Linked DNA regions of Homo sapiens: all the other regions are linked to region 3. Evidence: promoter capture Hi-C in 16 types of primary human blood cells and fetal thymus (Javierre and others, 2016). All regions are on one chromosome and are shown on one strand. The core of a region is centred on a gene start or on the middle of the fragment in contact, and the rest is flanking DNA. Distances in the headings are between cores, read along the strand shown. Region 1 has its middle 8.8 kb from the start of KIF20B. Region 2 overlaps KIF20B (kinesin family member 20B). Region 3 holds the start of IFIT2 (interferon induced protein with tetratricopeptide repeats 2). Region 4 overlaps PANK1-AS1 (PANK1 antisense RNA 1). Region 5 overlaps ANKRD22 (ankyrin repeat domain 22). Region 6 has its middle 17 kb from the start of MIR107.

Region 1 (3,718 bases), core at 24-2,523, 390 kb after region 3:
GATGGAAAAATGGTGAGAACAATAAAGAAGGTAGGTACTCTGGCAGAGGGACTGCAGAATAATGCTTACCCTTGGGCCTGTGAGTAGAAAGTCCCAGAAGAAAAGAGGATAAGCTGAATGCAGTGTAGAAAATCTGGCTTTGTCAAATCAAATAGAATTCATACGGAAAAATTCTCACAATATAGTGTTCACTAAAAGTAATGTGGCCAAAAATCCTGTGAATATAGTTTGGTCCCTAAGTGTGTGAGTGTGTGTTTCCTTTAAATGTGTTATATGCCTACTATGGTAAGATAGCAAGGACAGGGTGGAGAACAGGAATGAATGGACATGGTTTCTGCCCCCGTAAGGCTTAAACTTTAATGCAATAGATAGCTTTGAAAGTAAATGTTAAGAGTGATTGTATCACTGGTTGTCACATTAGAGATGAGTTTATTTTCTTCTTTATAAATTGTATTTTCCATGTTTTCTACAAGAACGATGTATGCCTTTTATAATGAGAGAAAAGCAACACATCTTATATTTTAAATGAACAAACATTACAAAAAAACAAAACAAAGAAGACAAGGCCACAGGAATCAATTCACATTCATCAGGCTAATAACAGCTTTCTTTACAAAACAGAATACCAATTTTATGTATTCAGCTATGTTCAAGGTCTTATAATAGTAGCTGAAATTATATGAAGAGGGTTAAAAATCAATCTTTGCTCACAAGGGAGATTAAATTATTGTTTGTGTGGTGCTTATGGCACACGGAGCTGAGGGGATAGTTAGCAGCAGATAAAAATATTATATTTCTTTGATTAATAAGGGCTAACTAGATGTGTTCATATTTTATGAACATGCAATTTAATTTGATGTAGCATAACATTTTCTATCCTCTGATTTGCAAAATGTTTCCATTCTTGGATGAAGATTTAGGAGATACTCTAATACACTTTATCAGCAGCACATTGCCAAAGCATCTCCTAGAGTAATAAAACTTGAAGAATGCATATCATTACCTATGCTATTGCTAACTTCAATGTCAGAAAAAGCTTGTCTTACATTTTTAAAGTAGAGTAACGCAATATTAATAATAGCAACTACACTTAATGGGCATTTACTTTGTGTGAGACATTTTACATTGATCATTTCACTGGATCATTCACAACAAAAAAGAATCACAGGTCTATAATCTCTTAAAAACTCTGGGGACCAAATGTGTTTTGGAAATGAGAATTTTTTGGAATTCAGGATGAAATTGGAATCCTTTGGAATATACTACATAAATTGCATACATTTTGTAACATTCCAAATGGGTACAGGACAGTACTATGTAATGAAACACATTAATCTTACTATTTCTGCGAATAAATGTGTGAAAATTCACACTAAGTGAAACAAAACCATAAATAATATTACAATTTATTTACAAAAATATATTAGTAAATTCATTGGTAAATAACATTTTTAAATAAATACGTTTATTGGTAAATGAAATATGAAGATAAATATAGACCACACATACCATAAGCTTTTAATGTGTTTTGTCACTTGTGAAAAAGCTTCTTATTTCTAAGGAAATTTTAAGTAAAATTTAAAACTTATACTGATGAAAACTAACCCATAACACATATACATGCAATGAACGTTTGTTACCTTTGATTGCCTGAGAATCTTGGAGAAGAGGTTGTTCCAGTATTACCACTGCCTATGAAACCAGGTTGGAGCTGGACATCTGATGAGCCAGAAACAGGATTGTCAAGAGATGAAGCGGCATTACCACAGAGAGCTTTATTAAAGACTTTTCCCAGTTTCACCTGCTTCCTTAACACAGGTTTCTGTCTAAGCAGTTTCTCTTTAATTGAGTAAATTGTCATCAGCTCTTGCTCACTGATAAATGTACATCGTTCAAGGCCAGCAATTAATCGGTCACACATTTTCACCATATGATCTATGGAGATTTTTTTCACCCAAATTCATAATGTCATCATCATTACTACTACCATCTTCATATTGATCTGCATTTAACACCATCTCAGCAATTTCCCCATCACTCTTAGGATGCACAATGGGTTCATCATTATCAATGTTAACCCTTTCTTCAATGTTAGCTTCTTCTAACTTATTTACACTTTTGGCTGATAAACTTTTGGCATAGGTAATGAATTATGCTACCATTGTTTTCTCATTAGAGTCATGAACTCTTTCAAAATCTTCATCAGCTAGGTCACTTTCAAACATAATTGTAGCCCAAAGTCTATGCCAAGCATTTGTTAATGTTGACTTATCAACGTCGTTCCAAGCATTAGCAACTGTGAAGATGGCATCCTTAAGATTAAATTCTTTAAGGATGTCCTGGATTTTCAGGCCTCTGTTAACTGAAGCAAGGATGCTTTTCAAAAAACTGTTTATACTTGCTCTTCACGGCGTGTAGAATTCCTTGGTCACAAGGTTGTATTACAGACGTCACACTGGGGGGAAAGTCAATGCCAAAAGCATTGCTCTTCGCAAGATGTTCAGGAGGGGGTTGTGCAGAACAGTTATCTAGAAACAACAAAATTTTGCAGTTGTCTTCCAGTCCAGTTTGCAATGAGCTCATGCTGCTGGCACAAAGTGCCTATCAAACCAGTTGGAAAAGATTTCCCGTTACTGATGCTTTCTTGTGTGCATAACAATGTACAGGTAAATTATGCACACCTTTTAAACACCTTGGATATAGGCTATTTCCAATCACTGCCAATTTTATCTTGTGTGTGCCTGCAGCATTAGCACACTCAAGAACAGTTAACTTTTGCTTAGTATCTTTGACATCTGTTGTTGCTCTTTTGTTAGCCATTGTTAAAGTTTTTCTAGGAACATAGCACCAGTACAAAGCTGTTTCATCAGCACTGTAAATTTGTTCAGGGCTAAGATTTTCATCAGATATTACCTTAGCAAATTCATCAATGTAATTTTCAGTAGCTTCATCATCAGGAGAAGCCTTTTCACCACAGATTTGAAGATACTTGATTCCAAGACACTTTTTAAATTTCTGCAGCCAGCCTCCTGAATATTCACACTCTCCTTCAAAGTTCAGTTCTTCATGGTATATTCTAGCTTGTTTCACGACCAACAAACCAGTCAGTGGTGTATCTTTACTTCTTTGTTGTCGAACCCATTCAATCAACACAGGGTCAAGGTCTTCATTTTTGGCTCTATGCAATGTTTTTCTATTTTTCATTCGTTCCTGGTTATTGCTGTCACTATAAAATTTCAACAACTTGTCTGTTTCTTTAAGTCATATATCGTGGTGGTTCCCATACCATATTCTTCAGTAAGACACCTCACAGACATACCACCATCAAGTTTCTGCAATAACTCCACTTTCTGAGATATTGATAAAGACAGATGCTTCCTTTTCTTCTTCTCACTGTTACCCATAGGTATATCTTTAGCCCTTTTCGACATTTTCCATGGAATTAATCCCCAAGTCAGAAAATATCAGCAAATAGCAGAGGCATGTGTGACTTACGGATACAAGTGCTGAGACAATAGAGGCTTCATATTTGTTCACAGTAGGTTTTCTTTGGCATATAATCCTGGTGCCAAACTTACAAAAACACTTTGGGTTTCACAGTGTTTTGTTTTTTGTCCTGTTTTGGAATTGCAGAGTAAAGACTATAGACCTGCATTAAAAATATCATTTTAATGAAGAAAAGGCTGAGGCTCAGTCAGTATCTTGCTCAAGGTTATGC
Region 2 (3,714 bases), core at 671-3,170, 410 kb after region 3:
TTAACATTTTCTTTTCTTCTTTGGTGAATTTTTTTGTGTGTGTGTTCTCTTTAAGAAACTTTCGCCTTCCCCAAAGTTTTTGTCTTACTTTTTCTAGAAATTTTAGTTTTCATTTGAGTAGTTATATCTGTGGTCCATTTTGAACAGTTTTTGTGTGCAGTTGATATAGGGACCCAGGTTAACTTTTTTCTTTTTCTTTTTAGCTTCCATACATTTTTTTTTTTTTAACTACATAAGTAGTTATTTCAGCATTATCTATTGAAAAGACTTTCCTTTCCCTGTTGTTTTGGTGCTTTACAAACGGCTGTGTATATGTGGATCTATTTCTGGATTTTATTCTCTTCCTTTGACCTATTTGTCCTTATTCCAACACAATACTCTCTATTTCTGTAGCTTTATAATGATTCTTGAAATTAGGTAGTGTGAATTCTCCAGTTTTGCTTTTCTAGGAAAATTTTGGCTTTTCTAGGTCCTTTGCATATTCATAAATTTTAGAATCAGCTTGCCAGTTTCTACAAGACAGCATCTTGGGATTTTGACTGGGATTGCATTAAATCTGTGGATCAGTTTGGAGAGAATTGACATCTTGACAATATTGAGTCTTAATCCATGAACACAGTATTCTTCATTTTATTTAGGTCTTTAATGTCTTAGCAGTATTTTATACTTGTCAATGTAGAGGCCTTTCGTGTCTTTTGTCAAATATATTTATAAACATTTTATGTTATTTGATGCTATTGTAAATATTTTTAGTTGCTTTATTTAGGCATAATGAAACACTGCATATATTTTAGATACGCAGTTTGATAAGTTTTGACATGTGCATACACTTATGTAACTGTCACTACAGTCAAGATAGTGAGTATAACCATTACCCTCAAAAGTTTCCTTGAGGCTCCTTGTAAGTGCTCCCTCCCATCACACCTCCAAGTAACCTCTGATTAGCATTTTGTTAGTATACATTAATTTTTTGTAGATTTGTTGGATTTTGTATGCGTATGTTCATGTTGTTTCTAAATAAAGAAAATTTTATTTCTTCCTTCCCAATTTGGATGACTTTTGTCTTTTCATTTCCTTTTTTTCTTTCCATTTTTTTTTTCCTTTTCTTTCCCCTCCTCTCCCCTCCACTTCTTTCTTTCCCTTCTTCCCTTCCCTTTTACCTTTCTTTTTCCTTTCCTTTTCTCTTCCCTTTTTCTTTCCCTTACCCCTCCTTTTTTCTTCCCCCATCCCCTTTCCCCCTTCACACCCAATTACACCAGCTAGAACCTTTAATACAATGTTACTAGAAGTGGGGAAGCAGAAATCCTCTTCTTATTACTCATTTTGCTGCTCATCTTAGATTGAGTCTTTCCTGTTAAGTTTGTTGTTAGCGATAGATTTTTTGTAAGTGCCCTTTATCAGGATGAGGAAGTTTGCATTCATTACACTTTGCTGAGAATTTTTATTACAGATGGACGTTGGATTTTGTCAAATGCTGTTTTCCCATCTGTAGAGATAAAAGTTTCTCTTCATTTATTCTTTTAATATGGTTAATTGCCTGGATTGATTTTTGAATGCTAAACAGACTTTATATTCCTAGAATAAACCATTCTTGGTCAGATGTATTATCCTGTTTTATATATTGGCTAGTATTTTGTGTGGGAAATTTTGCGTATATCTTAATGTGGTATTTTGTTTTCTAATTTTTTCCTGAGGATATCTTTGTCAATTGTGTTATTCGGCTTATGTCAAACTCAAAATTAGTTAAGGTATTTTCTCTTCCTATATTTTCTTAAAGAGTTTATGTACAATTTGTATTTTTTTTTTTTTTGAGACGGAGTTCTGCTCTTGTTGCCCAGGCTGGAGTGCAATGGCGCCATCTTGGCTCACCGCAATCTCTGCCTCCCAGGTTCAAGCGATTCTCCTGCCTTAGCCTCCCAAGTAGCTGGGATTACAGGCATGCACCACCATGCCTGGCTAATTTTGTATTTTTAGTTGAGATGGGGTTTCTCCATGTTGGTCAGGCTGGTCTCGAACTCCCGACCTCAGGTGATCCACCCGCCTCGGCCTCCCAAAGTGTTGGGATTACAGGCATGAGCCACCGCTCCTGGCCTGATCATTTTCTTAAATGTTTGATAGAATTTACTGTTAAACTACTAGGGCCTGAATTTTTTTTTTTGTGGCATTATTTTGTTTGAAAATGGATTCAGTTTGCTTCATAGAAATTGGGTTATTCAGATTTTCTAGTTATGTCTGTTTTGATTAAGTTGCATTTATCAAGTTGTTTCCTTTTTACTTTTTTAAAAAAACATTAAAACATTTCTTTAAAATTACATTTTCTATGCACATTTCTTCCTCAGAAAAAGTAACAAGGAGAATGGTACATAGTAAAAAAATTCTGAATACCTCATGGAATTGAGCATTTGAATAATAGAATATTCTAGTTACTTTTGATTTATTCTAGAGTTATATTTTCCAATGACTTAGGGCCTCATTAATTATATTAGGCTTTTGTGGAATAAAGCCTTTTTATAAACTTCACGTATAAATACAGGAGATGGAGGAAATTGGATCTTTTTTGGTGTATTTTGTTTTTATTTAAATAGATTTATTGAGTTTTTCTAACATTATTAAAAGCAGGATAGTGACTGCTTAGAAATTCTTTATCATCTCAGATTATTATGTAAAAAGTAGCCATGTTAAGGAAAAATGGTCTCTGAAAAGCCGTATCTTTCAAAAACACAATGTTTTTCTCCTTTATTTTTTAAGGCAAACAGTTTCGAATCTAAAGATTATCTCCAGGTTTGTCTTCGAATAAGACCATTTACACAGTCAGAAAAAGAACTTGAGTCTGAGGTTTGTGTTGAATTTAATAGAATTTTAATATTTTACTTTCATTTAAAATGGCAAAATACTAGTTTTTATTTATTGGGGGTATGTTTTCTAGGGCTGTGTGCATATTCTGGATTCACAGACTGTTGTGCTGAAAGAGCCTCAATGCATCCTTGGTCGGTTAAGTGAAAAAAGCTCAGGGCAGATGGCACAGAAATTCAGTTTTTCCAAGGTAAAACTGAAGTGTTTTTGTTTTTTGTTTTAAAGATAAAGAGACTTGGCTTAGGCTAAATTGCTATATAATTGTATATAATGAACTATACATTTTATGCTTATGCAACTTAGATTTTAAGGATAAGACTCAAATCTCAGGTCTGGAAATATATAATTGGATGTAAAGAGATCACTGTAGTGTTATTAAAGTTATTATTACTATATTTTTATTAAAGTTATTATTAATATATTTTTAAGAAATATTCTTTTCAAAACTTAGGTGAATACTTGATTCCCTGGTACAGATTTCTATCTTGAAAACTTTCTGGTAGTAAAACTATCAAATGTATTTGTGGGAGTGGGGATGTGGCACCTATTTTAAGAATGAATCTTTTAAATTTTTAAACAGTAGTGTTGGGATGGAACACACTATTAATATTAACTTGAATTTTCTAAAAAGAGTTTTTAAAAAATGTTTGCTTAGGTTTTTGGCCCAGCAACTACACAGAAGGAATTCTTTCAGGGTTGCATTATGCAACCAGTAAAAGACCTCTTGAAAGGACAGAGTCGTCTGATTTTTACTTACGGGCTAACCAATTCAGGAAAAACATATACATTTCAAGGTAAATATTGTTTTATTTTGGTTGGAAAGGATAAGGAAGCAATAATAATCACTCAGTGTTTTTATAA
Region 3 (3,971 bases), core at 486-2,985:
TGCCGTTAAATAAAAAAAATAAGTTCTAATGTTTGATAGCCGACTAGGGTGACTATACTTAGCAACAATATTATGTATATTTTAAAGTAACTAGAAGAGAGGACTTTAAATGATACCAACACATAAAAATGATAAACACTGAAGGTGATACATACCCCAATTACCCTGACTTGATCATTAAACATTCTTTGCACGTAACAAACACTCACATGCAACTCATAAATATGTAAATTATTATACATCAATAAAAAGGGGGAAAATATTGTGGGGCTTGGGGAAGCCAAGAACATAAGGAGATGTTAGGAATTGTTTGGCTTAGGTCAGTAATTGTGATGGATTGTTGAATGTCAGAGGAGATAAAGTTCTGGAAAAAGCCAACATTGAAATTTCCCCTGGCCGGGCGTGGTGGCTCACGCCTGTAATCCCAGAACTTTGGCAGGCCAAGGCGGGCAGATCACCTGAGATCAGGAGTTCGAGACCAGCCTGGCCAACATGGTGGAACCCCATCTCTACTAAAAATACAAAAATTAGCCGGGCGTGGTGGTGCGTGCCTGTAATCCCAGCTACTCGAGAGGCTGAGGCGAATCACTTGAACCAGGGAGGTGGAGGTTGCAGTAAGCCAGGATCTTTCCACTGCACTCCAGCCTGAAAAAAAGAGTTTCCCCTCTGATCACTTTGGTTAACGATTTTAGTTAATAATTATAATAGAAACTAGCATTTACTTATTACTGCCAGGCATTATTCTAAGGACATTTCACGTATTCTCTCATTTCATCCTCCCAACACCACAATAAACCAGTAGTTGTATTATTCCCAATTTACAAAACCGAAGCAGAGACATTCAATAATTTTCCCCAGAGTTTCATAGCATAAAGGTGGAAGCTGATTTCAAATCCAGATAGACAGACATCACTGCCCATGCTTCTAATCATGTATTCATTTAGTCAACAACTACTTTTGGAATGCTTGCCATACCATGCAATGTGCAGGTTGTTTTGCAGGGACTGGAGATTCAGCAATGATTCAGACTAAAATCCCCTGCCCTGTCGAGGCTAAATAACTGCTCCTTACAGTGGCCTGTGGATCATATTGGTATAAGGCAGAGCAAAGATGGGTTAATATGGTAATCACAAGGCAGGGAGCTTTGTAAATGTGTCCTCCTAGGAGTTGTGCTCCCTTGATGCCATCAGTACATTCCACAAAGAGGAAGTTCTTCTAACTCACTACGCAGCTGGGCTTGGCTCTTACTCAAGAGCATTTTGGGGTGAAAATATCTAAGTTTACCAGCCCTTGTGCAAATCTGAGATGAAGGACTACATTAAAAGTAAAATTCACCTTAGCAGGAAGTGGGGTTTGCTATTCTGTGTATATCTTTAACAGTATCTGCTGAAAAGAACCCTTTTGTTAAATAATTGTATTACAAGTCCCCAACTTAATCTTTTCGAATATGAAATAAGAGAGGGACAGTGCACAAGAGCAATGTCCCCAGACCCATCTTTAAGTGAAGCACCAGGCCGATGAAACATCCCTCTCTGCTGCCTTCTTTCTCTGATCACAACTCAGCTCCGGAGGAAAAAGAGTCCTCTAAAGTATAATAAAAAGAAAAAAAGAAAAAGAGTCCTGCCAATTTCACTTTCTAGTTTCACTTTCCCTTTTGTAACGTCAGCTGAAGGGAAACAAACAAAAAGGAACCAGAGGCCACTTGTATATATAGGTCTCTTCAGCATTTATTGGTGGCAGAAGAGGAAGATTTCTGAAGAGTGCAGCTGCCTGAACCGAGCCCTGCCGAACAGCTGAGAATTGCACTGCAACCATGAGGTAAATATTTTCCCTTCGTATTCGGTAGTGCTGTTGAGTCATCTTGTCCAATGCAAATCCTGAGAAGCTATGTTCCCAAAGAGGGCCAGCTCCATTTTAGTGTTTGTTTATAGCCTTACTATGCCTCTACCTCTGTTGGTTGTAAATCTGTCTTACCAATGGTGGTTTGTTCCCTCCTGAACAATTTTCTGCTTCACACTGGCAAGCTTCCTAAATTCATCTCCAGAACTGCACGCCTGGGGAGTTGAGTTGCAATCAGAGAAAGAAGGCAGCAGAGAGGGATGATGTTTCATCGGCCTGGTGCTTCACTTAAAGATGGGTCTGGGGGCATTGCTCTTGTGCACTGACCCTGTCTTATTTCATATTTGAAAGGATTAAGTTGGGGACTTGTAATACAATTATTTAACAAAAGGGTTCTTTTCAGCAGATACTGTTAAAGATATACACAGAATAGCAAACCCCACTTCCTGCAAAGGTGAATTTTACTTTTAATGTAGTTCTTCATCTCAGATTTGCACAAGGGCTGGTAAACTTAAATATTTTCACCCCAAAATGCCTCCTGAGTATGAATTAGAGATGGAGTGCTTGGAGAAAATAGTTCTGTTCTCACCTCTAACATTCCCTTCTATCCCCAAAACATGAGACTGCCCTGGAGAGGAAGTGTTAGCTCATTGAATAGGAAGGGAAATATTTTCTCCAGTTTGAAGGTGGGGTGGCCGGACCTGGTTGCCTAACCCTCATCCTGGGAGCTCTGGAATCCCGTGTTACCAACCCCTGTGCTTACTTCCTATGAGACACCTTGCCCTCTGTCTGTGAGGTTCCTGATTTCTCTTCTTGAAACGATATTATTTCCTGCTAGTCTAAATGTTCTGCCTGATTTCAAAAAAAAAAAAAAAGATTTGAGATATTTACAGATTTCTTTTTTTTGTAGTCACCCAGAATCTATAGAACCCTTTTCTTATTTCTTAGAATTTTAGCATGGTCTTATCTTAGAATTTTTCCCATTACAATACAGACCCATCTGTCCTTTCTTTCCTTAATTCTTTATCTATTGTGACTTTCACTGGGCATTGCCCTTGTGCCCTAAGACAGTGGTTCTCAAAATTGAGCATGCATAAAAATTGCCTGGACAGCTTATTAAGGACAGAGTCCTAGGGTTGACTCCCCAGAGATTCTCATTAAGTGGGTCTGGGTTAGAGTCTGAGGATGTGTGTTTCTAAAAGGCTCCTCAGTGATTCTGAGACTGCGGTGGTAGCATTAGTTCTGAGCCTGGTTGATAATGTCACTGTGGCTTTCATCCAGATAAGAGGCAAAGGAAGAAATTGTTGTTGTTGTGTATACAACTGGAACTTCTATAGGAATCGGGAGAATAGGTCCTCACAAGCCAGAGCCCAGGAAGCAAGTGTCTGGCATCAGCTTCTCTAACTTACCAGTGGAAATAAAAACCCAAAATCAAGCAGTGAAGTTGGATGCCTTTTAAATGGCTGCTCAAAGGGCTTTTACCTAAGTGTGTATATTAAATATCTCTATCCTGCAAATGCACAATAGACTTTATGTTTTATATGGTGGAGATAACCTCAATTCTATTTACTCTCTCTGTTTCTTTTGTAAAATGAGAAAGGAGCTAAGGAGTTTATGTGTTAAGGGAATGAGCTCCCAAACTCAACTGGAAGTTGGAAATAGAATTGAGAGGGAGCAAGGAAGCTATAGTGAGTCTTCAGGTGTTAGGATGCGTGCTGCACATGCTTGGGGTCTGAGAGTGGTCATATTCTGTAGGACTCACCATATTCTGTAATGAATGCAGTAGAGAGTGTGACTGAGATGCACATGGAGAAAACACAGGGTCTGAGCCCTCCAAGCTCCCCAGTGTCCTGTTCTGATCCTCCTGGGGTCACTACAGTCCTACCCATGGTCCTGTGAAGCACTCTAGTAACTTTAAATCAGTTCCTGCTCACCTCTGTTTCTTGGAACAAATGGAGACTTAACTATCCCAGGCAGAATAAACAAACAAACAAACAAAAATAGGATGGAAAATAGGCAGGAGTTTATAGGAAGGACCCGCCTTCCATTCAAAGCTCCAAATAGGTCTTAGCAAAGAGCCAGGTTGTCTAAGTCCCTTGATGTAACTAACCCCAGGTGCGGGAGCCCCGGAG
Region 4 (3,907 bases), core at 308-2,807, 350 kb after region 3:
GTTATGCAATCTCTTGAGGCCTCACTTTCCTATCCATAATGGGGCTGTTGTGAGAAAATCTACTAAAAGTACCTGGTACAATCCTGGCACACAGTAAATGCTCAGAAAGCTAGTTTTCCTTATTACGCTATTATGATTAGCAGTTCACCCTTTGTTTCGACAGGGGAACAAACCATGCTTACAGCCGTATTTATTGTGTGATTTATTTTGTGATATTCTCCGTGATTTGCAATTAATCTACAGAGGAGTCAGAGTCTGGCAGGTGCTGGCTGGCTACTGGGTTGCTGGGCCCCTGGGCTTCAGTGCATTCAGCAGCATCTAGGGCTTGCATCTGGCAATTCCTTCCAGCAGAGCCTTACCTAGAATCAGAGCTTGAGAACCATGGGGGCCACTGGAGCACTCTGGTCTATCCACTCTTGCATACTTTTTTCGTATCAGGAAACTGAGCTGCAGACAGATGGCTGAGGTTATTAAGAGCAAAGGTGGGACTAAACTCCAAATCTCAACTCTCTTAGCTTCCCTAACCTTATGCTATTTAAAGACAGAGAAAAAAACCCAGGTGATCTGGCCCCTCCCTACCTCTCCTGCCTCATCAGGGGCTCCCTGTGCTGCCTTCAATTCCTTAAACAACATTCTGCTGTTTCCATTGCCTTAGAGAAGTCTCTTCTCTAAGACCTCTTTTGTCTACTAGACTCCAACTTTAGATCTCCTCTTTAACTTCTCATATTTAGAGAAATGTTCCCTGACCCTTAGGGCTACATTAGGTCTCCCTGCCATACCCTCTTCCTACTCCTTGTACTCTGTTTATGACTCCTTATCATTTTGTAACTATACCATGCATCTGTTCCCTCATTTGTAACTTGAGAATAATAGGACATCACTGAGTTGTTAGACTGATGAAATGCATAACACATGCGTAAAATTAATTCAAACTTCAAGCTATTGGAACTTTTTTGTGAGACTTGAGAGAAATGTGGCTATGCAGCTACAACTTCTGCTTTTTTTTTTTTTTTTTTTAAGACAAGGTCTCACTCCTTCACCCAGGCTGGAGTGCAGTGGCACAGTCGTAGCTTACTGTAGCCTCCAACTCCTGGGCTCAAGCGATCCTCCCACCTTGGCCTCCCAAAGTATTGGAATTATAGGAATGAGCCACCATGCCTGGGCTTGCCTTTTTTCCTTGTAAATAATTAGGAAGACCGAGCAGGGCCAGAGATACTAATCCCTTGGATCACTGCCTCTCCTCACAGAGTAATAATCTTCCTTGGAATGCAGCAGTCTGCAACCAATCAAATCGCTGTGGCATATGCATTGGTCTTGTATGGAAAATGTAATTCTGCTGGAACTTCTCCATCTCTGCCAGTATAAGTGAAATCTTAACTTCTCCACTTTGGAGCACTGATCCCACTCATTTGGAGTTAGTGTTTCCAGGTGGCTATCCTCAAGCTTTGCACTCAAACTTCATACTTAATCATGTTCTCTAAATCTCATTATTTAAGGTTAACATATGTAAAGTGTCCAGCACATTGTAAGTGCTAGAAAAAGACATTATTATTATTTGATTGCCCATCTTACCCCACTTCACTGTAAGCATCTTTAAGGCAGATGACTTGTTCATCACTCTATCCCTAGGAGGCACTTGGTAATTATTTGTGACTGGATAAATGACTTATATCAAGCTTGTCTAGCCTGTGGCCCACAGCCTGCATGCGGCTCAGGACGGCTTTGAATACGGCCCAACACAAATTCATAAACATGAGATTTATTTTTGTGACTTTTTTTTTTTTAGCTCATTAGCTATCATTAGTGTTAGTGTATTTTATGTGTGGCCCAAGACAATTCTTCCTCTTCCAGTGTGGCTCATGGAAGCCAAAAGATTGGACACCCCTGACTTAGATGATATTTCACACAGAGTCCCCCTCACTTTCTACTGTAAATTTGCTAAAAATCACCAGCCACTCCTAAATATTCAAATATATCATTTTCAAATTCCCACATAATTGAGCTGAGTGGCTTAGGAAGCAAATTACATCAGAGATGCAAATAGAAGCTTTAGCATTGCAATATCTCCAAGGACATATTTTTTCTAGCTGGATTCCCAGGCCTGCTGAGGAAGGCCTGAGCCAGGTGGCTCAGACCCAGGCAGGGCAAAAGTACTGGTACTGGGACAGAACGTCCTCCACCTGCTTCCTTTCTCCTACCCTTGTCAGGCTGGGTGCTTGGATCAGTTACACCCAGCGTATGGTAGGGAAGAAGCCAGGTGGCATCTCACAGGTTTATTCAGGGGTGTGTGTAGGAGGTGTAACTTTGAGGCGTGAGCTGTCATGTCCTCCAGGAGGGGCATGCAACAAATGTTTGGAAGAGAGTGAGGGAGAAGGGAACCCACAAACCAGTGCACTCCCTTGGGTCTTATTCATTTATTTAATAATCATTTATTGTGTGTACTATGTTGTAGGCACTAAAGCATGCTGGGAATACAAAGACAAAATAGATGGCTTCACTGCCCTCAAAGGGCTTACAATTCAGTAGAGAGAGAAAAGTCAGTGATTCTCCAGCATCAGTGTTATGTAAGAATAACCTAGGGAATTTTTCCTTTTTAAATTTGTATTAAAACTAACATACATACAGAAAAGTATGCATATCTTATAAAGCTCAAGGTATTTTGCAAAAAATGAACATGCAGTGTAACTTGCAACCCAGGATATTTTGTAAGCACAGATTCTGGGTCCAGTTCCCATAGACTGATTCATCAGTAGGTGATGATGATGATAACGAAGATGATAATAAATATTTTTAAAATTAAAAAAATAACTTTTTCAAAAACAGGGGATTTGATGCAGATGATCATCATGGCTTGGAGAAACAATGAAGGAAGCAAAGTATGCCATCTATGCTGCGGGAGGTAACTCCAGAAGACCCCAGAGAGTGAGCAATGACAGAGTCAGGGGTGGGGGTTTATGGGGGAGTGGTGCTGAGGTGGAAGCTAAAACAGGTTTCAGGGAGGAAATGACCCTTAAACTGAATTTTGAATAATATTGGCCTTTCTTCAGGTGAATAGGGAGGGAAGGTTTAAAAGAATCTACTCAGAACTGAAGGAGCCAAGACTCTGTGGGTGCATTTGAAACAACCTGGCATTTTTGGGAAACTGCCAGGAGTTCCACAAGGCTGAAGAGCAGCCTGAGAAGGGAGAAGGTGAGCAGTAATGGCTGAAAAGTTTATGTAACCAACCAACAGGCTCATTTTACCTGCTGCCCAGATACAGCCGATTTATCAAGACAGGGGAATTGCAAAAGAGAAAGAGTTAATTCATGCAGAGCCAGCTGAACAGGAGACTGGGGTTTTATTACTCAAATCAGTCACCCTGAAAATTCAGAGGCTGTGGTTTTTCAAGGATAGTTTGGCAGTCCAGGGAATGGAGTGCTGCTGATTGGCTGGGGATGCAATCATAGGAGTGTGGAAAATGGTCCTTCTGCATATGTGCTGAGTCTGCCTCTGGGAGGGGCCACAGGATGGGTTGGCAGGTCCACGTGGAGCCACTGGTTGTCAAAAATGCAAAACCCTGAAAAGACATCTCAAAAGGCCAATCTTAGGTTCTACAATAGTAATGTTATCTGCAGGAGTATTTGTGAAAGTTGTAAATCTTGTGACTTCTGGAATAATGACTAGTAATCATTTATGTCTACACTTTAGCAGAATTCAGGCTTCTCTTATCTGCCTAACCTATAAAGATGGTTTAGTTTTGGGGAAGGGCTACTATCATTTAAACTATAAACTAAACGTCTCCCAAAGTTAGCTTGGCTCAAGCCCAGGAATGATTAAAGACAGTTTGGAGGGTAAAGGCAAGATGGCAGTTGGTTAGATCAGATCTCTTTCACTATCATAATTTTCTCACTGTTATATTTCTTGCAAA
Region 5 (4,243 bases), core at 1,364-3,863, 470 kb before region 3:
CAGAATTTTTTTGCTCCCTTCAGAAAAGTCTTAGTTAAGGTTAAATTATTTTTCTAAATCAACATTGCATGGATTATGTTACCATTGATTAACTATTTTTGCTAGCTTTCTTCTTGCTGTACTTCAATTATAGCATTGGATGTATGTTGAACATGTCAATTACAGAATACAAACCAAAGGCTTTTTTTGTTTTTATTTCTTTTCAACATCTCACTGGCCTGGCAAGAGTCAATGAGTCACACCATCGATCTCCACATTTGCCCTTTGCTCTACAAGTGTTGTACTCACCATGAGGAAATACCCAATAAGCAGAACAGGCATTAAGAGGATAATTAGTAGATAATCAATGAAGGTAAATTTTTTCTTCACAGCATAATGCAAGCAGGTTCTCTCTTTCTAAAAATTAAGAAAAGGATTCTTTACTAATAAAGCATTTCAATTCAAAATTTATTCAGATGGCCATCTCAAAAAGTTTAGTTTGTGCTTTTTGTTTTTCCGGTACCCATGGCATCTTTTCCTGTGGGATACATCTGATTACTGAATGCGGCTTTCCATGGAGCAGAACAGAGAACTCGGTCCAGTGTAAAGGAAAAGCTAGGGAAGGGCTCCTGGGAGTCAACAAAGGTGAAATGTACACAGCAGAGCTCATCAGAAGACAGATTCTTATACCCACTTAGTTTTTGGAAAAAAAGATACACTGAGATATAAACTTAGGACTGAATTTACTATGAAAATTGATAGTTATCCCTTAATCATCTACCATGTGTACGATTATCCATTTTGTGGTTTGTTCATAGGAAAACTCTTAACCACATGGCTGTTTTTCATGTTCCTTCATGTGCATAGTCTAGAAGAATGCATATAACTCAATTTTATTCTTCAAATATGTGAATACTTATCAGGTAATAGATGTCAGCTTCCAAGGGTTGTGGGAGATGTGAACTCTTAGGGCCTCATAATCAAAGATGGACAGAAATATGCACAAATAAATATAAGGCAAAACAGAAGGTGGTAATTGGAATACCAATCAAATCAGTAAGAGGAGAGGGAGCCCAAGAGAAAGAAAGGAGGTTAGTTTCCACTTATGCAAGGCACTGTACCTAAATAAGAACACTTTTTGTTTTTCTAATATGAAGGCATTTATATTTTCTGTAAAAAAATTTTAGAAACTAGAGAGGAACATAACGATAGAATTTTAAATTGCCCATTATTATATTAAATGGTCCAGAGTTAACTGTTGACATTTTGTTGTATTTTCTTCCAGTCTTCTTAAATGCATAAATGTGGAATTTTGAAATGTAGAATGATATTGCATATGCAATATCATATCTTGCTTTTTTCAGTTCAGAAACGTATATTTAGAATATGTACATTTTTCCATGCAATTCAATATTTTTAAACATATGATTGTAATGGCTGCATGGCTTAGTATTGAGTGGAACTACTCTGATGTATTTAGCTAAGCCCTGCCTTTTGAACATTTCATGGTTTTTGAGGGTTTTGTTTTTGTTTTTGTTTTTCTGTGAGACAGGATCTTGCTTTGCCACCTAGGCGGGAGTGCAGTGGCACAATCCTAGCTCACTGCAGCCTTGACTTCCTGGTCTCAAGCGATCCTTCAACTTCAGCCTCCAAAGTAGCTGGGACTACAAACATGTGCCACCACACCTGGATAATTTTTTACTTATTATTATTTTGTGTAGAGATGCGGGGGTCTTGCTATGTTGCCTAGGCAGGTCTTGAACTCCTGGTCTCAAACTATCCTTCCACCTTGGCCTCCCAAAATGCTGGGATTCCAGACATGAGCCACTGCACATGGCCCGTTTCAAGTTTTAAACTTTTCATTTTTATAAATAATATTGCCTGAACCTGCTCATTCATAAATTTTTGTCAACATTTCCAAATTTGTCCTTTGCCTACATTTCTAAAAATAGAATTCCTGGCATAAAAAGTATTAATGCTTTTCATATTGCGCTATCAAATTGTGTTCTAATAAGACAATAATAACTTAAACTTTCTGATCAACATTTGTTTTCTTTTTTAATCTTGGTCAGTTTGACAGACAAAAACAAGGATCTTTATGTTTTAATTTAATTTGCTATCAATAGAATCCATAGGCTTGTGCTTCTGAATCTCCAGCAGAGCTTTTTGTTTGTTTGTTTGTTTTTAAGGTGTTTGTTTGTTTAGTGTTTCTGGAAATAATTTATAAACAGATTTCAGACATGAGAAATCACAGGTTCAAATTATTAATGTACAAATATTAATATTTGGAGAAAATAAAAATATTAAATGCTAACATTAGAAACATTTGAAAGTGGAAAATGCAAACCAAAAACTTCTACTGATAAAATCTATTAATCTAATGTATCCACTAAAGTCTTTTTCATGGTTTTTATGATACCAGAAAATCCCAGCAGGCTGGCTGAGGCCCTCCTCTTCTGCAAAGCGGAGATAAAAGTGTCTCCTCAGCCTTGCCCATGGGCTAACGTCTCCTCCCTCAGTTTCCTAACGAGCGCACCTCTTAAAAGAGCGCAGGAACCCACAGACATCTGTCTTCTGGCACTACCACTCACTGCAACTCCACATATCTGGTTTCACAGCAGTGATCTACAGAGATCCTATTATAGTCCACGATGTTGCATATCTGTTCCATTCAGCACAGGCATGACTTGCTTTTAATCGCAACCAAACCAAAAATAGTAAGCATAAATAAAAAAGTCCAGTAATGATCAATTTTCTGATAATACATTGTTACTCCTGATGAGCTAGTCTCCAAATGACTTAGAAGGGGCAAGGGGGGATTTCCAGTGTTTTCTCGCCTTGAATGCATATAAGTGGGTACAGGACAGTCATAATGATTGCAAAAAAATGGCTTAATATTTATTCAGTGTAATTTAAATATTGCCTTCACTACGATGCAAATGCTAGATGTTCAGAAAGGGCTCCACAAGGATTTTCACAGCAATACACACATATTCTTCTCTTTCTTGGTCCTGAAGGCTCCAAAGTAGCTAATATTGCATCTTTAAATATATTCTTTACACCTTTTTGTGTGACTTCAAGTAACCTCTGGCTCATGAGCTTATTTGTCCTTGGTAAATTTCTCAATAGTACTCTTTCATTCTACAAGAACACTATAGGATCCTCTGGAGATCAGGACATTAATATAGCAGGTAAAAATCTAACTAATGAAACAGCATTTCTTTTCCAAGAAATCTTTGCCATTGCTTCTGTGTTAGTAATGAGAAAGAGGGGAGAGGAAGAAAGAGGAGGATGAAGAGAGGAAGAAGGAAAAGAAAGAAGCTCTATCCAGCCAAATAAGTGAACCAGAGGTAAAAAGACATAATTTATCACAAATTATGCCTGCTGATTGAACTATGTTTTATTTTGCTGTTTAGCCTAATAAAATGTCCTTGGTATGTGTCAGTCTTTCTAAAGTAGGCTAAGATAATTGTTCGTATTAGGAGCTGCAAGCAATTTAAAAAATGACATGCACCACTTCTAGTGATTCAAAGAGAAAAGAATTATCATGAACAATTACACTCTCCATTCATGTCATGACCTCACCTGGTTTTTGAGGTTGACATTAGCATTTCTTCTTAAAAGGAAGGAAACGATTCTCACATGCCCTCGCCTGCAAGCACAGATCAGGGGCGTGTCTCCATTAAAGCCATCTTGAACGTTGGCATAGCTGCTGTCTTCTTTCACCCACCGCCACACTTGTCCAAAGTCATTCTGATAGGCTGCTTGGCAGATGGGCTGGGTCGGGAAAAACAAAAGCAGGTTTTGAAATACTGGCATAATTAAACCACAAAAACGAAAAAAAAGTCATAACCCAATACATTAAAATTTAAATGTTTTAAAATTGTAATATATTGCTTTGCAGGTGAGATTTTTTGGTCTCAGTTATGCCTAGCTTTAAGTCTAGATCAAGAATTAGCCCATGAGGAACCTCCTACATTTTCCTAAGTTTTCTTGGCACACACTTATGTCCATCAAATGGATGAATAAATAAATGAAATACTACAAATTCAACTCAGTAAGGAAACTATGTATAGTGCTTACAGGTAGGTGGGCCTGTCGGAAAAGCATTCATTTTCTTTACTAAAGATAAAATACCTTTATCTTTATCTTTACTAAAGACAAAATACCTTTATCTTTATCTTTACTAAAGACAAAATACCTTTATCTTTATCTTTACTAAAGATAAAATATCTTTATCTTTAGTAAAGACAAAATGTCTTTA
Region 6 (3,869 bases), core at 155-2,654, 270 kb after region 3:
AGAATAATAGCAAAAAGTGTAATTTTCACTTCTCAAACTTGGTAGGTTTATTTTGGGAGTGGCCTTGAACCTATTTTGCAACTACTCCTTAGTAATTAAAATGAACTTCTCCTGAGTTGAAATGCAAGATGCAGTTAATGCTTCCAAAGTCTCTTCTGCAGGACTGGATCAATGAATAAAAACTGACACTAAAACATAAGTAGCAATTATTCAATAATTAATACTAATGAATTACTAAATCTCTACATCTTAAAAGTTTGAATACCAGTGTATTTAGAATTTGTTTGGCTTCCAAAAACTATGCATGCCATGGTGTTTTATTTTAAAACTTCAAATCCTAACACTATATACCTTTTTTAAAGTGTTAATTTCTCATTTCTTTTTCTTTTTTTTCTTTTTTCTGAGACGGAGTCTTGCTCTGTCACCCAGGCTGGAGTGCAGTGGTGCGATCTCAGCTCACTGCTCCTGGGTTCACGCCATTCTCCTGTCTCAGCCTCCTGAGTAGCTGGGACTACAGGCACCCGCCACCACACCTGGCTAATTTTTTTTTGTATTTTTAGTTAGAGATGGGGTTTCACCGTGTTAGCCAGGATGGTCTCAATCTCCCGACCTCGTGATCCTCCCGCCTCGGCCTCCCAAAGTGCTGGGATTACAGGCGTGAGCCACCGCGCCAGGCAGTTAATTTCTAAGTGTGGCTATATCTTCATAAAATCTCTCTCTATGGCCATTAAAATGGATTATGCCATAGATGAAATGGTCCTTAACATTCCATGGACAAAGACCCCTACAGCTTGATTTTGCTGAGATAATCTTCATAGTTAATTAAGGACCACAGAAGACTACCATGAGCAGCTGAGGTCAGACAGGGACTGTAGAAACACAGGCTAAAGGACACGAAGAATTGTGTAATTGACTAAATGTTCAGGGCACAGCCAACAAAACTCAATTGTTCTGGACAACCACACCATTTTCTCTAGAGTTGCTGAAAGTTGTGTGGGTGGGATCTACAGATAATTGCCCCACTTCTCCATTTCATTTTGCCTGTCTAAACATTGTATAAATAACTACTTGATAAATTCAATGTTGATGTTGGCACATGAACAGACAGACAGAAAAGTGACTGCTCATTTTAAAATGTATAAAGCCAATATAAATAGTAAACAAATCTCAAAGGAGAATGCCTAAAAATGTTTAAAATTCACAATAATGTTTAATTTACCAAATTTCAACCCACTTATGGAGCTTAATTCAAAAATACTTTTGGCTTATATTTAAAATAAAGTGACATTTGACAAACTGTTCAAATATTAAGCTTAAAAATGTACTCTTCCTAAATAATAATTTTAATACAAACTCTAGATCCACAACTTGCAGGATTAACTATCTCTTCCCCAATATGCCAAAAACACGTACACATCCAAATATGCATAGAGAATATGAATGCTAGAAAAGTTTAAGAATATATCATGAAAATATATTTCATATGTCAGGATAAATAAGCTTGAGTAGTTAATGAAAAATAATTATTTTAAAGTTTAAGTTGTCTTTAAAATTAAATTTTACATATATTTTCAAGATATATGAGAAGACATACACCACCTACCTCACTATGGAATGTGGTAAAACAAACATAATTTATATCTGTGTCATGGCAGCCAAATGGCATAAATTCTTTAGATGTTGAACTTTGCTAAAATAGCAACAGCAAATTTCATGAACAAAGTGAAGTGGAAGAGAAAAGAGAAGAACAATCCAATACAAAAACTGTCTAATTCTTTCTGGTTGCCTTATAGCCTAAAAGAAAATTTTAAACTCTCCTTAAGCCATAACTGCAAAAAATTTAAAAAGAAAATCCATCTGTTAAAACAAATTACGCAAATGGTATTGAGGCTACTTGAATTTATGTCACAGTGCCCTTAGTATTAACCACACCAACTGTGGGCCACACACGTTTGACTAAATGTGCTTAGTGGTTGATTCCAGAAATGTCATAATTCAAGAAATGTACAAGGAAAAAAACTAGTGGAAAAGCAAAAGTAACAAGTGGAATATTTTACAAAATTGAAAATAATACCACACAGGTCAAAAAAAAAACATCCAATTAACATATATAATTTCAGTTTTGTGCTATATTCCAATGGTTCTTTTCAGTCTTCTAATTTACATTGCTTTTTATATATTTCATTAATATATAGGCATATGTTGGAGAAATTGCAACTTTGTTTTCAGACCCAGGCAATCAAGTCACATGAATTTGTTTCCCAGCAGATGTACATGTTATGTTTAGAATATACTATAGTCTGTTAAGTTTGCAATAGCATTGTGTTAAAAAATATAGATACCTTAATTTCAAAAATACTTTACTGCCAAAAAATGCTAATAATCATCTGAGCCTTTAGCCAGTACTAATTATTTGCTGGTAGAGGGTCTCATCTCAATGTATTTGGCTGCTGACATCAAGGTGGTGGTTGCTGAAGGTTGTGGCAATTTCTTAAAATAGGACAAAAATGAAGTTTGCCACATTTGTTGACTCTTTCTTTCACAAAAGATTTATCTGCAGCATGTGATGTCATGTGATGGCATTTTACCCACAACAGGACTTTCAAAATTGAGGTCAATCCTTTCCAACCCTGCCGATGCTTTATCACCTGAATTTATGCAATATTCTAAATCCTTTGTTGTCATTTCAACAATGTTTACAGTGTCTTCACCAGGGGTAGATTCCATCTCGAGAAACCACTTTCTTTGCTTGTCCGTGAGAAGCAACTCCTCATCCTTTCAAGTTCTATCATGAGACTGCAGAAATTCAGTCATCTCTTCAGGTTCCACTTCTAATTCTAGTTCTCTTGCTATTTCTACCTCATCTTCAGTGACTTTCTCCACTGAAGTCTTGAACCCCTCAAATTCATCCGTGAGGGTTGGAATCCACTTCTTCCAAACTCCAGTTAGTGTTGGCATTTTGACCTCCATCCATGGATCACATATATTCTTAACGGCATCCAGAATAGTAAAACATTTCCAGACAGTTTTCAACTTATTTTGCCTAGACCCATAAGAGGAATCAGTATCTATGGCAGCCATAGCCTTACAAAATGTATTTCTTAAATAATAAAACTTGAACATTGAAATTACTCCCTGATCTGTGGGCTGTAGAATGGATATTGGATTAGCAAGTAGGAAAACATTAATCTCTTTGTACATTTACATCAGAGTTCCTGAGTGACTAGGTGCATTGTCAATGAAAGAAATCTTTTGAAAGGAATCTTTTTTCTGAGAAGCAGGTCTCAACAATGAGCTTAAAATATTCAGGAAACCATGCTATAAATAGATGTGCTGTTATCCAAGCTTTGTTGTTCCGTTTATAGAGCACAGGCAGAGGAGATAAGTCTTAAGGGCCCTAGCATTTTCAGAATGGTTAATAAGCATTGGCTTCACCTTCAAGTCACCAGCTGCATAAGCCTCTAAAAAGAGAGTCGGCCTGTCTTTTGAAATTTTGAAACTACACATTGACTTCTCATGTCTAGTTAGGAAAGTCCGAGGTCGTCTTTTCTTCTAATAGAAAGCTGTTTTGTGTACATTGAGAATCTGTTGTTTAGTGTTACCACCTTCATCAATGATCTTTGCTACATTTTCTGGATAACTTACTGCTTCACCTTGTACTTTTATGTTATGGAGACAACTTCTGCTCTTAAACTTCATGAACCAACCTCTGCTAACTTCCAACTTTTCTACTGCCACTTTCTCACCTCTCTCAGACTTCAAAGAACTGAAGAGAATTAGAGCTTGGCTTTGGATTAGGCTTTGGCTTAAGGGAATGTTGTGCCTGGTTTGATCTTTTATCCAGACATAAAACTTAATATCAGCCACAA

The links. Contacts are between HindIII fragments. The CHiCAGO score rates a contact against its expected background, and 5 or more counts as called.
Region 1: a contact is called between a fragment that was not itself captured here and the fragment with the promoter of IFIT2 in region 3, in 1 of 17 cell types (erythroblasts). The highest score is 5.2, in erythroblasts.
Region 2: a contact is called between a fragment that was not itself captured here and the fragment with the promoter of IFIT2 in region 3, in 3 of 17 cell types (erythroblasts, total CD4 T cells and megakaryocytes). The highest score is 8.9, in erythroblasts.
Region 4: a fragment that was not itself captured here is called in contact with the fragment with the promoter of IFIT2 in region 3 in 1 of 17 cell types (erythroblasts); the score reaches 5.3 in erythroblasts.
Region 5: a fragment that was not itself captured here is called in contact with the fragment with the promoter of IFIT2 in region 3 in 1 of 17 cell types (non-activated CD4 T cells); the score reaches 6.9 in non-activated CD4 T cells.
Region 6: a contact is called between a fragment that was not itself captured here and the fragment with the promoter of IFIT2 in region 3, in 1 of 17 cell types (total CD8 T cells). The highest score is 5.0, in total CD8 T cells.

The regions. Positions count from the first base shown.
Region 1 is chr10:89,690,889-89,694,606 of GRCh38, forward strand. It overlaps the pseudogene FLJ37201. Among named protein-coding and RNA genes, the nearest start is that of KIF20B, 8.8 kb to the right of the region's middle. RefSeq lists an enhancer at 2,496-2,997. The HindIII fragment of the contact is 479 bases long and covers 1,035-1,513 here.
Region 2 is chr10:89,706,419-89,710,132 of GRCh38, forward strand. It overlaps KIF20B (kinesin family member 20B), which reads left to right. Exons shown (of 33, transcript NM_001284259.2): 3 at 2,749-2,835; 4 at 2,927-3,043; 5 at 3,509-3,647. Among named protein-coding and RNA genes, the nearest start is that of KIF20B, 6.7 kb to the left of the region's middle. The HindIII fragment of the contact is 5,889 bases long and covers 1-3,714 here.
Region 3 is chr10:89,300,311-89,304,281 of GRCh38, forward strand. IFIT2 (interferon induced protein with tetratricopeptide repeats 2) reads left to right here and starts at 1,736. Exons shown (of 2, transcript NM_001547.5): 1 at 1,736-1,818. The coding sequence starts at 1,814. It overlaps LOC105378419 (a long non-coding RNA gene), which reads right to left and starts at 1,593. Exons shown (of 3, transcript NR_188200.1): 1 at 976-1,593. It also overlaps a transcript of LIPA not described here. RefSeq lists an enhancer at 1,444-1,763. The HindIII fragment of the contact is 3,117 bases long and covers 1-2,022 here.
Region 4 is chr10:89,646,100-89,650,006 of GRCh38, forward strand. It overlaps PANK1-AS1 (PANK1 antisense RNA 1), which reads left to right. Exons shown (of 5, transcript NR_184344.1): 2 at 2,824-2,899; 3 at 3,048-3,189. Among named protein-coding and RNA genes, the nearest start is that of PANK1, 2.8 kb to the left of the region's middle. The HindIII fragment of the contact is 233 bases long and covers 1,442-1,674 here.
Region 5 is chr10:88,828,271-88,832,513 of GRCh38, forward strand. It overlaps ANKRD22 (ankyrin repeat domain 22), which reads right to left. Exons shown (of 6, transcript NM_144590.3): 2 at 3,565-3,756; 3 at 289-396. Among named protein-coding and RNA genes, the nearest start is that of ANKRD22, 21 kb to the right of the region's middle. The HindIII fragment of the contact is 5,846 bases long and covers 1-4,243 here.
Region 6 is chr10:89,573,591-89,577,459 of GRCh38, forward strand. No RefSeq gene overlaps it. Among named protein-coding and RNA genes, the nearest start is that of MIR107, 17 kb to the right of the region's middle. The HindIII fragment of the contact is 188 bases long and covers 1,311-1,498 here.